3 separate regions of the Homo sapiens genome follow, and regions 1 and 3 are each linked to region 2. Evidence: promoter capture Hi-C in 16 types of primary human blood cells and fetal thymus (Javierre and others, 2016). All regions are on one chromosome and are shown on one strand. The core of a region is centred on a gene start or on the middle of the fragment in contact, and the rest is flanking DNA. Distances in the headings are between cores, read along the strand shown.

Region 1 (4,521 bases), core at 1,898-4,397, 72 kb before region 2:
GTCCAGCCACCCCAACATTCCTGGCACCTGATGTGGGGCAATGAAGACCCCAGTGAAGGAATGCTAGAGCATGTGAAAGCAGAGGACCCATCATTAAAGGACACCTGAGGACAACTGAAAGAAGCTCAGCAGGAAAGCTGAGTGCTCGGAAGAACCAGGGTAACAATGGGACTGAATGAAAGCAAATATACTGCTTATTTGAATTTCTTAAGGCATTTATTATGAAGAGGGGGAGTGAAAGTTAGTAATCCGAATTTGTTATCACTTTTTAGTACAGTAAAGCAGTTTTGCGCATGGTTCCTGGAACAAGGGACCATAGAGTTGGATGAATGGGATAGAATTGGAAGAGATTTTTAAAAGGCATATAAAGAGGGGGCAAAAATTCCAGTTTCCATGTGGTCAATGTGGGCACCAATAAAGGCAGCTCTTGAGCCATTTCAAACAGATGATGAGGCAGATTCACATGAGGAAGGGGAGGACGAGTGTAAAAAACTAACTTCAGATTCTAAATGTGAAGAACAGAAACTGGAGGAAATTAAAGAAAAGAAAGGGAAACAGAAAAAGTATGTTTTACTAGCCCGTCAGCTCCACCTGCTGAAATAAGTGAATGACCACTTCCTCCCTCTCCCCTTAATGGGTGAGAAGATGAATTAGCTGCAAAACTTACCGTTCCTGTAGCTGCAACATTAAAACGTGGAGCAATTGGTGGTGCCATACAAAACTCTATTCAAAAGGCTGGAGCCGACGGAGACCTTGAAGTATGGCAATTTCCAGTTACTATAATCCAGCAAGTAGGACAGAATATAGCTAATTGGGCCACCTTTTCATTTAAGTTGTTAAAGGAATTCAAGCAGGCCATTAGTCAACATGGGCCAAACTCTCCTTTTGTGCAAACTTTGTTAAAAAATGTGGCTCTTGATAATAGGTTAATACCATATGATTGGAATACTTTAACAAAATCTGTTTTCACTCCATCTCAGCATTTACAGTTTAAAACCTGGTGGGCTGACAAAGCTCAAAATCAGGCAAGGGAAAACACACAAGTGCAGCCACCTGTGCCTGTTTGCTTTGAACAGTTAATGGGAGTCGACCCTAATTGGAGCTGATTAGAAAATCAAGCAGTAATGGAGGATGTTGCCATTGTTCAGCTGCGCTCTGTGTGCTTACGGGCATGGGAAAGGATAAATGTTACAGGGATGGACAACCTCTTTCTGGAAACAGGAAAAGGGGCCCACCTCGGGCCCCTCAACAAACTGAGGCATATCTGGCACAGCCAGTGCCCTTACAAACATAGAATTCTCCCCTGCCACAGCAGGCAGTGCTGCCATAGACCTTTGCAGCACAATTCCCATCTCCCTGCTTCCTGGAGAGCCACCAGAAAAGGTCTCTACAGGAGTTAGGGGACGCTTACACTCAGGAACAGTTGGTCTACCACTTGGGAGGTCTAGTCTAAATTTGAAAGGTGTCACTGTACGTACAGGAATAATTGATTCTGATTATACTGGAGAGATTCAACTAGTTATTAGTTCCTCAACTCCGTGGTCTGCCTCCCCAGGAGAAAGAATTGCTCAGTTGTTGCTGTTACCTTACACAAAACTAGGAAGCAGCACAGTGAAAAGAACAGGAGGCTTTGGTAGTACTAATCCAGCAGGGAAGGCTGTATATTGGGTTAATCAATTAGGTTTTTTGTCTGACAAAAAACCTATTTGTACAGTAACTATTCAGGGAAAGGACTTTGAAGGACTAGTAGATACTTGAGCTGATGTCTCAATTATTGCTTTAAATCAATGGCCCTGACACTTGCCTAAACAAAAGACTTCCATGGGTATTGTTGGCATACGGACTGCCAAAGTTCCTTGATTTTACCATGTCAAGGGCCAGATGGCCAGGAAGGGACAATTCAACCTATTATTACACCTATTCCTGTCAATTTATGGGGTAGAGATTTATTGCAACAATGGAGTGCCCACCAAACATCTGAAGATCTATCATGAGCCACGGCAGGAAGAGAGGACTATGGGAAGAGCCAGAATTCCCAATACGAGTGATGGCATGAATAAACATCTCAGAGATGAAGGAGAAGACTGAGAATACTCATCAGGCAAATCCTCCAACATGAGGACAAATCAAGAAGTTGGCACAGATGGCAGAGGACAACTTGAAAGCACAGAACATAAACAACTAGTAACCTGATGGTGGCCATGCTGGTGGTACTCACCATGGTGGTAAGCTTCCCTACTTTAGGAGCAACTCAGATTTCACTTACTGGGCATATGTCCCATTTCCTCCTTTAATTAGGTCTGTGAGTTGGATGGATCCTGTTATTGAGGTGTACACCAACAACAGTAGCTGGATGCCTGAGCCCATAGATAACCGAGGGCCAATGCATCCTAATGAGGAAGGGATGAAAATGAATATATCCATAGGATGTAAATATCCTCCAATATGCCTGGGACCTGCTGTTGGATGCTTACAAATTATCACACGAGCCTGGTTGGCAATAGTTCCTGGAAAAAATAAATCACATGATTTCAGGGCATAGTTTAAAATATAATCATTCCAAACCTAAAATTCTGCAGTTCCATCTGAATAAGCTTGAATATGGCAAAACAGAGTTTGGTTTGAAGGTGTGGACACTTGAACTTGGGAAGATTGTATAGCAAGTAAGGCTGAGGTGCTACAAAATAATTCCTATGGAATCGTCATTGATTGGTCCCCAAAGAGGATTTTTAAAGACAATTGCACTGCAAGGCCCTCTTGTTGAACAAATGTAATAAACCAGTGGAATCATTGGCAATGGAATCATACACAGTATGTTCAGACAGAAGCTGATTTCCCTATCATATGGAGTCCTGCTGGCATTGTCGCCCCTAGTCCAAAAATGATATCTCCTGCCATAGGACAAGAACATTCAGAATTATGGAAATTAACTATAGATCAAAGTTCAATCAAAATTTGGGAGGGCAAATATAATAAGTATAGCAGGGAGGGAGGTAAAAATAAATATGTTCTTTCTTTTCTTTCCAACAGGACCTTCTGGATTCAGAGTTGTGTTCAGCCACCTTTTATGCTAGCAATAGGAACTGTTACTCTTGATATAAATACACACTTTATTACATGCTCCAAATGTCACTTGTTTACCTGCATTAACTCAACCTTTGATAAAAATCAAACCATTTTATTAATTAGAACCAGGGAAGGAGTTTGGATCCCTGTGTCCCTAAATAGACCATGGGAGGCATCACCATCTATTCATATTGTAACTAAGATCCTTAAAAAACGCTTATCCCATTCCAGAGGATTTATAGTTGCTCTTATATTTGCTATAATTGGCCTCATTGCTGTTACTACTACTGCTGCAGTAGCTGGTGTGGCTCTACACTCATCTGTGCAAACTGCTGAATTTGTCAATAAGTGGCAAATGAATTCCACAAAACTATGGAATTCTCAGGCTCAAATAGATCAAAAAGAGTTAACCAAATTAATGATCTCCATCAGACAGTGATTTGGATGGGAGATTGTATTATGAATTTAGAAAGTAGAATCCACATGCAATGTGATTGGAATACATCTGACTTTTGTATTACTCTCCATAGTTATAATGAAACAGGACTCCGATGGGAAAAGATTAAATGCCATCTGGAGAGCAGAGATGAAAAATCTCACCCTCAATATTGTGAAGCTAAAAGAGCAGGTTTTTGAAGCTTCTCAGGCTCACTTAGTCCTGCACCCTGGAACTGACATCTTGAACAAGGCAGCTGATGGATTGTCTGCAATCAATCCTATGAAATGGATTAAGGCCATTGGAAGCTCTACGTTTGAAAATTCTATCCTAATAATTATGTGCTTGTGCTGTCTCCTTTTAGTCTGCAGATGTGGAAGCTGTCTCTGGAGAGAAAGCTGCTGTCGAGAACAAGCAATGATAGCTGTGGTGGTTTTATGAAAAAAAAGGGGGGCATGTTGGGAGAAGCTGAGGCAGGGCTTGCATGTCTGATATGATGTAAAAGAGTCTTGGAACATGTCTGTGGTTCAGGGTCTAAAGCCCCTCATGGCCTTTGGAACACCAAGCTCTGTGCTAAATGGTGGAAGTCTGCCCTGCCACACCACAATCTAAGCCCAGGGCATAAAACCCTTCGTGGCTTGGATGGAATCCAGGGCTCAGGGTATAAAACCCCTCGTGGCTTCTGGAATGGGTCTAGACTTGCTGGCTTCTTGCTTCTAGCACTCCCAAGCTCATAAAACGATTGTATCTTAAACTATAAGAACATGTTCCCCATTATCTCAAGTGGCAGAATATGTTCCATATACTTCAAAGGAAATGCTAAACCATCACAGCTATAGCTCATGTGCTTGATGCACCACTTCCTTTCAACCCCCACATCCTCACCACCTGCTTCTTTGATCACCAATAAATATGGTGGGCTCCCAGAGCTCGGGGCCTTCACAGCCTCCATACTAGCGTTGGCCCCCTGGTCCCACTTTATGCACTCTAAACTTGCCTTTTATCATTCCTTTGACTCT
Region 2 (4,200 bases), core at 221-2,720:
ATGATCTAACTCAGACCCACTTTGCACTTTTTTCTTTGGTTGGCCACCATCTGTCTTTACTAGCTCAATGTTAGAAGACTTCTTTCTCCTTCCTGCTGGAGAAATTCAACTGCATTGCATGGAGAGCTAATTATATGGAGAGACAGTAAGTGCTTACCACTGGAGGGTATAAAAATACTGGCCGGTGTGGTGGCTCACACCTGTAATCCTAACACTTTGGGAGGCCGATGCGGGTGAATCATTTGAGTTCAGGAGTTCAAGACCAGCCTGGCCAACATGGTAAAATCCCTTCTCTACTAAAAATACAAAATTAGCTGGGCCTCGTGGCACATGCCTTGTAATCCCAGCTACTCAGGAGGCTGAGGCAGGAGAATCGCTTGAACCCCGGAGTTGGAGGTTGCAGTGACTGAGATCCCATCACTGCACTCCAGCCTGGGCAACAAGAGTGAAACTCCGTCTCAGGGAGGGGAAAATAAGTGAGAACCTTGGTGAAGGAAAGAGGTAATCAGCTCAGTTCAGGGCAGATCTGAGATGGGAAGACAGGAAAGGTAATCTCACATCTCCATCCTTTTGTAGCCCAGGCCTGGAGAGAATAATTAGGTGACCCGCTCAGAGTCCGTTGGGATAAAGTTGTTCTAGTTTTTGTTCACTACGCCTCCTTTCACGTGTCCTCTACAGTTGAACAGGCCAGTTACTGGGATGCAGTTCTGCGTTTCCCTTGGGTCTCACCTTAACATCGCTCGCTGAAGTGTGCCCAGATTACAGAGCGGGCAAAGGGAAGCAGTGGTTTTGCTCACAGCTGCAGGGCACCAGGTTCCTGGTTTCTCAAAGGCTTTTCTATTGGAGAAGTTTGGGTGAGACGATTTCCCGGACTGCAGCTCTGAACCCAGACTGTGGAATCTTTCAAACTATCTCAAAAACAGCCCCGCCTAAGGCATCCTTAAGAGCAGCTCTGAACTAAGGAAATTCCAAAGCCCACTTTACAAACCAGGCAGAAGCAAGGCCCCCAAGCAGGGAGGGAGGGAGATAGGGAAGAAAGGGGTGAGGAGTAAGGGGAACAGTGGCGCGGCTGGGGCGGGCGGAGGAAGTGGGGGAGCCAAGGAGACACCCCAGCGCTGGGATCCGGCAAGTCCTCCCTCTGAGTGGCCAGGGGGCCTCGTCCCTTCTCCCGATGCCTTCTGCCCTTCCTTGGGTCTCCGGAACCCAGCTTGTCCTAACCGCTTTCGCTGCGGGCAGCGCTGGCCACGCGGCCCCCGCCGCCGGCGGTTCTCCGTGGCCAAGCATCCTTGGCCTTGGAGCCCAGGGGCTGCGTTCCCCTTGGGGCCGGGGCGGGAGAGAGGACCTCGGTGGTACTCGCCCGTGCGCTGGGCGCAGCCGCTTGGCCCTCAGCCCTCTGGCGCGGCGCCCACCCGCTGGGTCCCGCCCCGGCAGCGACGCAGGGATAACCCGCGGCCGCGCCTGCCCGCTCGCACCCCTCTCCCGCGCCCGGTTCTCCCTCGCAGCACCTCGAAGTGCGCCCCTCGCCCTCCTGCTCGCGCCCCGCCGCCATGGCTGCCTCCCCCGCGCGGCCTGCTGTCCTGGCCCTGACCGGGCTGGCGCTGCTCCTGCTCCTGTGCTGGGGCCCAGGTGAGCGGGGCGATGCCAGGCTGATTGATAGCGGCACCAGGGGTTGGCCCCATGTGGCGCTTCCATGGTGCCCGGGGAGAGCGATCGGTGATGGGGTGGCGGCGTAGGGACCCATCCTTAGCCTAGGCAGGGCCAAGGGGTGGTAGAGGACCGGGTCTGGGGTTTTGCACTCGCACAAGTGCGAAGTGGTGCCCTTGTGAGGGTGGAGAGAGTACCGGGGTCAAGGGGAGGGTCTCAGATCTCCCGGGCAACCTTGGGCAAGGAGGGCCAGGCGTCCGAAGGGTGGGCAAGTAGTGTTTCGTGGCTTAACGTAAGGGGCAAAAGGGTTGTGGGGGCTTTACGCAGCTGGTAACCCAGAGGAGGCAAATGGCACCATCACCGCCATTCCCTTCCAGGCAGTCGCTTAGCAACCAAGTTGACTTGCGCTTCCCAGCTGGGTCAAGTTGCAATTTGCAAAGCTGGGCACAGGCCTCACACCCCAGAGAGGGGAAAGGCTCTTAAAGGAGTAATGCTTAATCTTTCCTGCTTCGTGGAGCTCCCAGCGAATCGGTTGAAAACTCTGAAATTCTCTGCTCGCTCTCTGTAAAACGTGCATTCACACGCACACCCAGAATGATGGGTGCTCCGATATCTGATCGCTGGGCTCCACAGGCCCCACTTTAGGAACCATAATCTGAAGCCGTGGTTTGTCCTGAGTTACCACCTTCACTGGGTAGGAGGAACATTTATGGTTCACAAGTGGCCTCAAGGACACATGACTGCCTTTGAAGCTTACAACTAGGGGAGGCAGGGATTGTTACCTCAGAGTTACTGGTGTATGAAGTGACTTGCCCAAGAGCCTGAGACTGGCGCTGTCCCACTGCAAAGCAGCTGGGCACTGCCTAATGTAAAAGGGAGGCTCACTCGGTTGCTCAGTTTCTGTATTTTGCTCATTCGAAACAGGTATGGAAACTGAACTCGAGGTGAGAAGAGGCAGGGGACATTCAGTAGGAGCCCTGGGATGGAGCCCCGGGGTTGCTAAAACAGCAGGAGGCGTGGTGAGGTCTGTTCAGGTGGGGAGGATTATTGTTCCACCTTAGAATCACAGGCGAAGCTAATCAGTCATTTCCCGTTGTATGGTTTACCTGCCTCCCACTCTTTGTTCTTGCCACTTTAAGAAGCACATCTGGGCCGGCCTTGGTGGTTCATACCTGTAATCCCAGCACTTTGGGAGGCCGGGGGGGGGGGGGGGGCAGATCACCTGAGGTCGGGGGTTCGAGACCAGCCTGACCAACATGGAGAAACCCCGTCTCTACTAAAAATGCCAGACGTGATGGCACGTTCCTGTAATCCCAGCTACTCGGGAGGCTGAGGCAGGAGAATTGCTTGAATCTGGGAGGAGGAGATTGCGGCGAGCTGAGATCGTGCCATTGCACTCCAGCCTGGGTAACAAGAGTGAAACTCCGTCGCAAAATAAAAAAAGAAATAAATAAAAGAAGAAGAAGAAAAAAGCACATCTGAATAAGTCAAGTGAGCACTGGCTACAAGCCATTTATTTTCAGGACTTGTATTTTATTTAGTTTATACCAATAACTCAGTTAAAATATCATCACCGAGCTGGGATGTGAAAGTTCTTATACAGTGAAAATATTTTTTTTTTTTTTGAGATGGAGTTTTGCTCTTGTTGCCCAGGCTGGAGTGTAATGGCGTGACCTTGGCTCACTGCAACCTCCGCCTCCCAGGTTCAAGCGATTCTCCTACCTCAGCCTCCCGAGTAGCTGGAATTACAGGCATGTGTCACCACGCCCAGCTAAGGTTTTTGTTTTTGTTTTGTATTTTTAGTAGAGATGGGGTTTCTCCATGTTGGTCAGGCTGGTCTCAAACTGCCGACCTCAGGTGATCCACCAATCTTGGCCTCCCAAAGTGCTGGGATTACAAACATGAACCACCATGCCCAGCCTACAGTGAAAATCTTTATGTAATCCCAAAGGTGACTCTTTATGCCACCTCCAAACTTTTTTTTTTTTTTTGAGACAGGGTCTCACTTTGTTGCCTAGGCAGGAGTGCAGTGGTGTGATCATAGCTCACTGCAGCCTTGATCTCCCGGACTCAAGCAATCCTCCCACCTCAGCCTCCCGAGTAGCTGGGACTACAGGTGTGTTGACTCCACGCCTGGCAATTTTTTTTTTTTCTTTTAATTTTTAGTAGAGATGAGTCTCACTATGTAGCCCAGGCTGGTCTCGAACTCCTGGGCTCAAGTGATGCTTCTGCCTCGGCTTCCCAAAGTGCTAGGATTATAGGCTTGAACCACCACGCCCTTCCTCACTCACAAACATTTAATAAAGAAAATGACCGTGACCCCTTCTTGATCAATTTATTAATATTAAGCACCTTCAAAGGAGCATTTTGCAGCTCTGAATTTGCTGGGAGAGCTAATGCTAGGCAACTGGATTGGATAAATTAAGGAGTGCTTATTATTGCAGCCTTGAATGAACAACTGATGATATTGGGTGAAAAGTCCTTAATACAGAAAAAAATCACAGCTATTCTATTGTTCCTTATCCTTTTCCTCAAACAAATTTAGTGTAGTGTCCA
Region 3 (4,032 bases), core at 1,432-3,931, 110 kb before region 2:
AGAGTAGGCAGCTGAAAATATTCACAAAAAGTAAGAAAAGAAAGAAATGGAAAAAGAGAAGAAAAAGCACCAGAAAGAGGGAAGGAAAAGGAAGGGAGGAAGGAAAAGAGAAAGAAACAGAGGGTATGGGGAAGAGTGATAAACTGACCTGACCAATAGGCAAAGAAGCTAAGAAGCTCGGACACCAGGCACCAGGGCAGAATTCTCTTGTCTGAACATCACCACAATGACACTCTGCTGGGATAAGCACCGGGAGGTGCAGATTAAGAATGGCAGCCAGGACGCTGAGACTCTGTCTTCATTTTCCGATGACAACGAGGAGCATCCTGGTGCTGGGGCTGGTGTTTTGCACAAGCGCAAGATGAACATCACTTCCCCCAAGGGACAGAGCCTAGACAACCCCAGGGCTTTCCTTCTTGAGCCTAAGATGGGTCCCTCCTCTTTCCCAAGCATGACAGTCATCAGTTGTGCCTTTACCAGCCCTGGCAGCTCCATGGCCAGCTCCCTTCCTCCTGCCTTCCTCACCCCTTCTCCTGCCCAGAGCTCCTTTCCTCCTCTCTCCCTTCCAGGGAGGCAGTGTGGGAGTTGGGTGAGGGGAGCAGAACTCCAGATTCAACCACTGGGTCTCCTGCTGCCACCAGGGGAGGCCTGATCAGGCAGGTTACTAGGTTACTATGGTCTGAATGTTATGTCTCCCTAAATCCATATGCTGAAACCTAATCCCCAAGGTATTAGGGAGTGGGGCTTTTGGAAGGGGACTTGGTCATGAAAGTTGGCCCTCATGAGGGCAGTCAGTGCTCTTATAAGAGGCCAAAGTGACCAGAGTTCTTCCCTTCCACCAGTGAGGACTAAAGAAGACGCCATCTATGAACCAGGAAGAGCACCCTCAGCAGACACTCCATCTGCTGGCACCTTGATCTTGAACTTCTAGCCTCCACAAACCCATTCCTCTTGTTGATAAGCCACCCAATTTATAGTATTTAGTTATGGCATCCTGAACAGACTAAGATATAGGTCCTGACTAGATATTTATTATTATTGTTATTTGGCAAAACTCCACTCACAATTCACCTCCCTTCGTTGGTTTCTTCACATAATCCCAGACTTTGGTTAGCGCTATATTTTAAATGAGCAGACGAAAGGAATGGAAAGGTAAATATTCCCTGCCTTCTTTTGCTCCTGCCTGCCTGTGGGAGGGGAGTATGACTTTCCCTGGGGCTGGGGGAGAAGATTTCCTCGGAGACTTTCTAGAGTAAGGGATGTGAATCTCAAGGAAGAGAGAAATAAGGAAAAGTAGGGGTGTCTTCGCTTTGTGCTGCCCCAGAAGCAGACCCAGATACAAGAATGGGAGTGCAAGTTTACTATGAAGGTGGAGAAAACTCTGATGGCGGTGGGAATGGGAGAGAGAGGAGGGAAGTCTGTCAGGAAGGAAGTGAAGCCACTTACTGCCCTGGACACTAGGAGCTTAGTCCCTCTTGGAGCTCAGGAAGCTGGAGTGGAACACACACCTCTGAGTCCTCTTGCCCTGGGGTGAAGATGCTGGGGTATTTCCTATACGACTCCACCATTCGGCATGGGTTGGAGGCTGTCCCACTCCATGCCTCTGTGTAGGTTGCAAGGAGAAACCCACTTTCTCAGGTAAAAGAATGCAGGTGCTGCCCTGGGGTGCTTTGAGGTGGTAAGGGATGGGCAGGGTAGGAAATCAACACTGTCTGCTACAGATTTTAAGAAAGGAAAGCTATGATCTTCAGTCCTCCTGATGGCGTGTGAGACACCTAAGCAAGGAACATCGGTTCTTTGGAAGTTGCTTCCTGATTGCCACAGTTTATCCTTTTCAATGAGCTGCTCCCAAAGCCTGGGCCACAGATCCTCACCACCTGGAGGCTGCAATGTCCTTTGCCCAGCTAAGCACCGCCGTCTCCTGAGCCTGGATCCACAGCTGGACTGCAAGCTCCTCAAGCATGGAGCTGCTGTGTGATTGCTTTTGTGTTTCTGAATCCTGCCTGAGATGTCTTATTTACATGCCCAGAGGAGGAGACAGAAGAGGAGAGCATTGAAAAAGATCCCTTTCATCAAGGAAGGGGTTTTCAGAGACCACGCTTGTGAGAAGCTTTGCATAGGGGCTGATCACTCTTCTGCTGAATATCATAAATCTCTTATTGTCCGCTGCTAAAGATGCAAATCGCAGAACTTTTGTTTGGGGCTACTGGCCAGATAGCCTGTAACTGCCTAAGCAAAGCAGTCTCTGAAACACCCATGAGGCCTGGGGATGAAACGGTGCTTCCTAAGTGATCTTGGCCCAAGCGTCACCCGGAGGGCACCCCTAGAGTTTGTTTCTCCCTGTCGTTGAGTGTTTATTGCACTCCAAGGCTAAGGTTCAGCTTAGACTTGGAGGTGGGGACTTTGTTTCTGCCCTGTCCTAATCCTGGAGCCATTTGCTCATCTTTAGGAGAATGATCTGCGGTCCCTGTGCTGTGCTGAGGCCCCCCGGCTTATTCAGAGAGAATGAGCCTTAATAGATGGGAAGGATGAAAAGGAGCAGCTTGCTTCAGGGAGCTGCACTAACCTGGCAGGGTTCTTAGGGACCATTGAGTTTTGTTCCACTTCCTGAACTCCAAATGGCCCCCCAGGGCCCTGGAAGAGTGATTTCAGCTCCAGGGAGCCAATGTGCTCTCCTCATGCAAAAGATCAGACCAGTGTCTTTGTAATCCTAGCTGCCTCGGGAAGGTGCTGGCTGCCTCAGCACCTGCTGCATAAATGCCCATAAATATTGATATTGTTTTAAATTGCCTATTAAAGAGAATGGCCAACTCCATGAAACCATTTTAAATAAATGTAGATTGCCTGACTCCCTGGCTCTTTTTTCATCCTCTGATCCTCTGGAGCTTTTTCTTCTAAAACAAGCTCCCTTCCACCCACAGCACAGGAGGCCCCCGGGAGTGACATGGGCTCCCTGCTCAGCTCCCTCTCTGCAGAGAGGTCCCAGCCTAGTTCTTCCAAATACTTATCTTCTGAAGTAAGTGGCAAGAAGAATGGGGTCCGGAGGAAAGAGAAATGGAGCAGCTGAGGAAGGGCAAAGATGAGCAAGGAAAAGGAAGATCTGGGATTGAAAGAAAAGAAAAAAAAAGATGAAGACATAACAGGAAGAGAGATGACATTAAACTTCCCCAAAGGTCAGGGATGTCATAGCCCAGTGCCTCTCCTCACTGCCTGGGCTGGCCAAAGCATTCCCTTTCTTTCATAAAGATTTCCCTAAGCTTCCAGCTGCCAATCAAGCTTCTGTTCTGCTTCCTAATTCCTCCATCCTTCCCTGTGGCACTGATCACTTTCTAATATTCAGCTGTTGTGGACAGACTTTGAGGGCAAGGAGTTGTCATTTATATATCTGTAAACCTTTCACAGCACAGAGTATAACTTTCAAAAAGTCAAAAATGTGATGTCATCTCAATTGCTGTGGTTTAAATGTGTCCCCTCCAAAATCCAAGTGTTGCCAATGTGATCATATTAAAAGGTGAGGTCTTTAAGAGATGATTAGACCATGGCAGCTTTTTTCCCGTAAGTGGGATTAAGGCTCTTATAAAAGGGGCTCCGGCTGTGTTTGGCTGGCTTGCTCTTCTGCTCTTCTGCCACATCAGCACACGGCATTTGTTCTCTCTTGCCCGTCCACTTCTGCCATGTGAGAACAGAGCAAGAAGGCTCACACCAGATGCCAGTGCTTTAATCTTGGACTTCCTAGACCCCAGAAAGAGTAGAAATAAAATTCTGTTCTTTATAAAGTACCTACCTTTCTGTGGTATTCTGTTACAGCAGCACAAGTAGACTAAAACACCAATCTAGAATACATGTGTCAAAGAGAGATTTCATTACAAAAAAGGGAACACATATAATAGTAATGCCTGTTCAGAAAGCATTTTTAAGAATTGGGTATTTCTAGAAGGTTTTTGGGAACAGAGTGTTAGAATATGATTGCTAGGTTATATAGAACATTGGTTAATGTTCTACCGAGCAATGAAACCACAGCTTCTCTAATGG

What was found. The method cuts DNA at HindIII sites, captures the fragments that hold promoters and counts their contacts. A CHiCAGO score of 5 or more calls a contact.
Region 1: a contact is called between a fragment that was not itself captured here and the fragment with the promoter of ECRG4 in region 2, in 1 of 17 cell types (non-activated CD4 T cells). The highest score is 5.0, in non-activated CD4 T cells.
Region 3: a contact is called between a fragment that was not itself captured here and the fragment with the promoter of ECRG4 in region 2, in 6 of 17 cell types (non-activated CD4 T cells, naive CD4 T cells, naive CD8 T cells and 3 more). The highest score is 8.7, in non-activated CD4 T cells.

Annotation. Positions count from the first base shown.
Region 1 is chr2:105,990,239-105,994,759 of GRCh38, forward strand. No RefSeq gene overlaps it. Among named protein-coding and RNA genes, the nearest start is that of ECRG4, 73 kb to the right of the region's middle. The HindIII fragment of the contact is 1,110 bases long and covers 2,593-3,702 here.
Region 2 is chr2:106,064,218-106,068,417 of GRCh38, forward strand. ECRG4 (ECRG4 augurin precursor) reads left to right here and starts at 1,471. Exons shown (of 4, transcript NM_032411.3): 1 at 1,471-1,626. The coding sequence starts at 1,548. The HindIII fragment of the contact is 9,592 bases long and covers 1-2,394 here.
Region 3 is chr2:105,952,450-105,956,481 of GRCh38, forward strand. The region is part of intron 1 of LOC105373531 (a long non-coding RNA gene); the gene reads left to right. Among named protein-coding and RNA genes, the nearest start is that of ECRG4, 110 kb to the right of the region's middle. The HindIII fragment of the contact is 1,147 bases long and covers 2,109-3,255 here.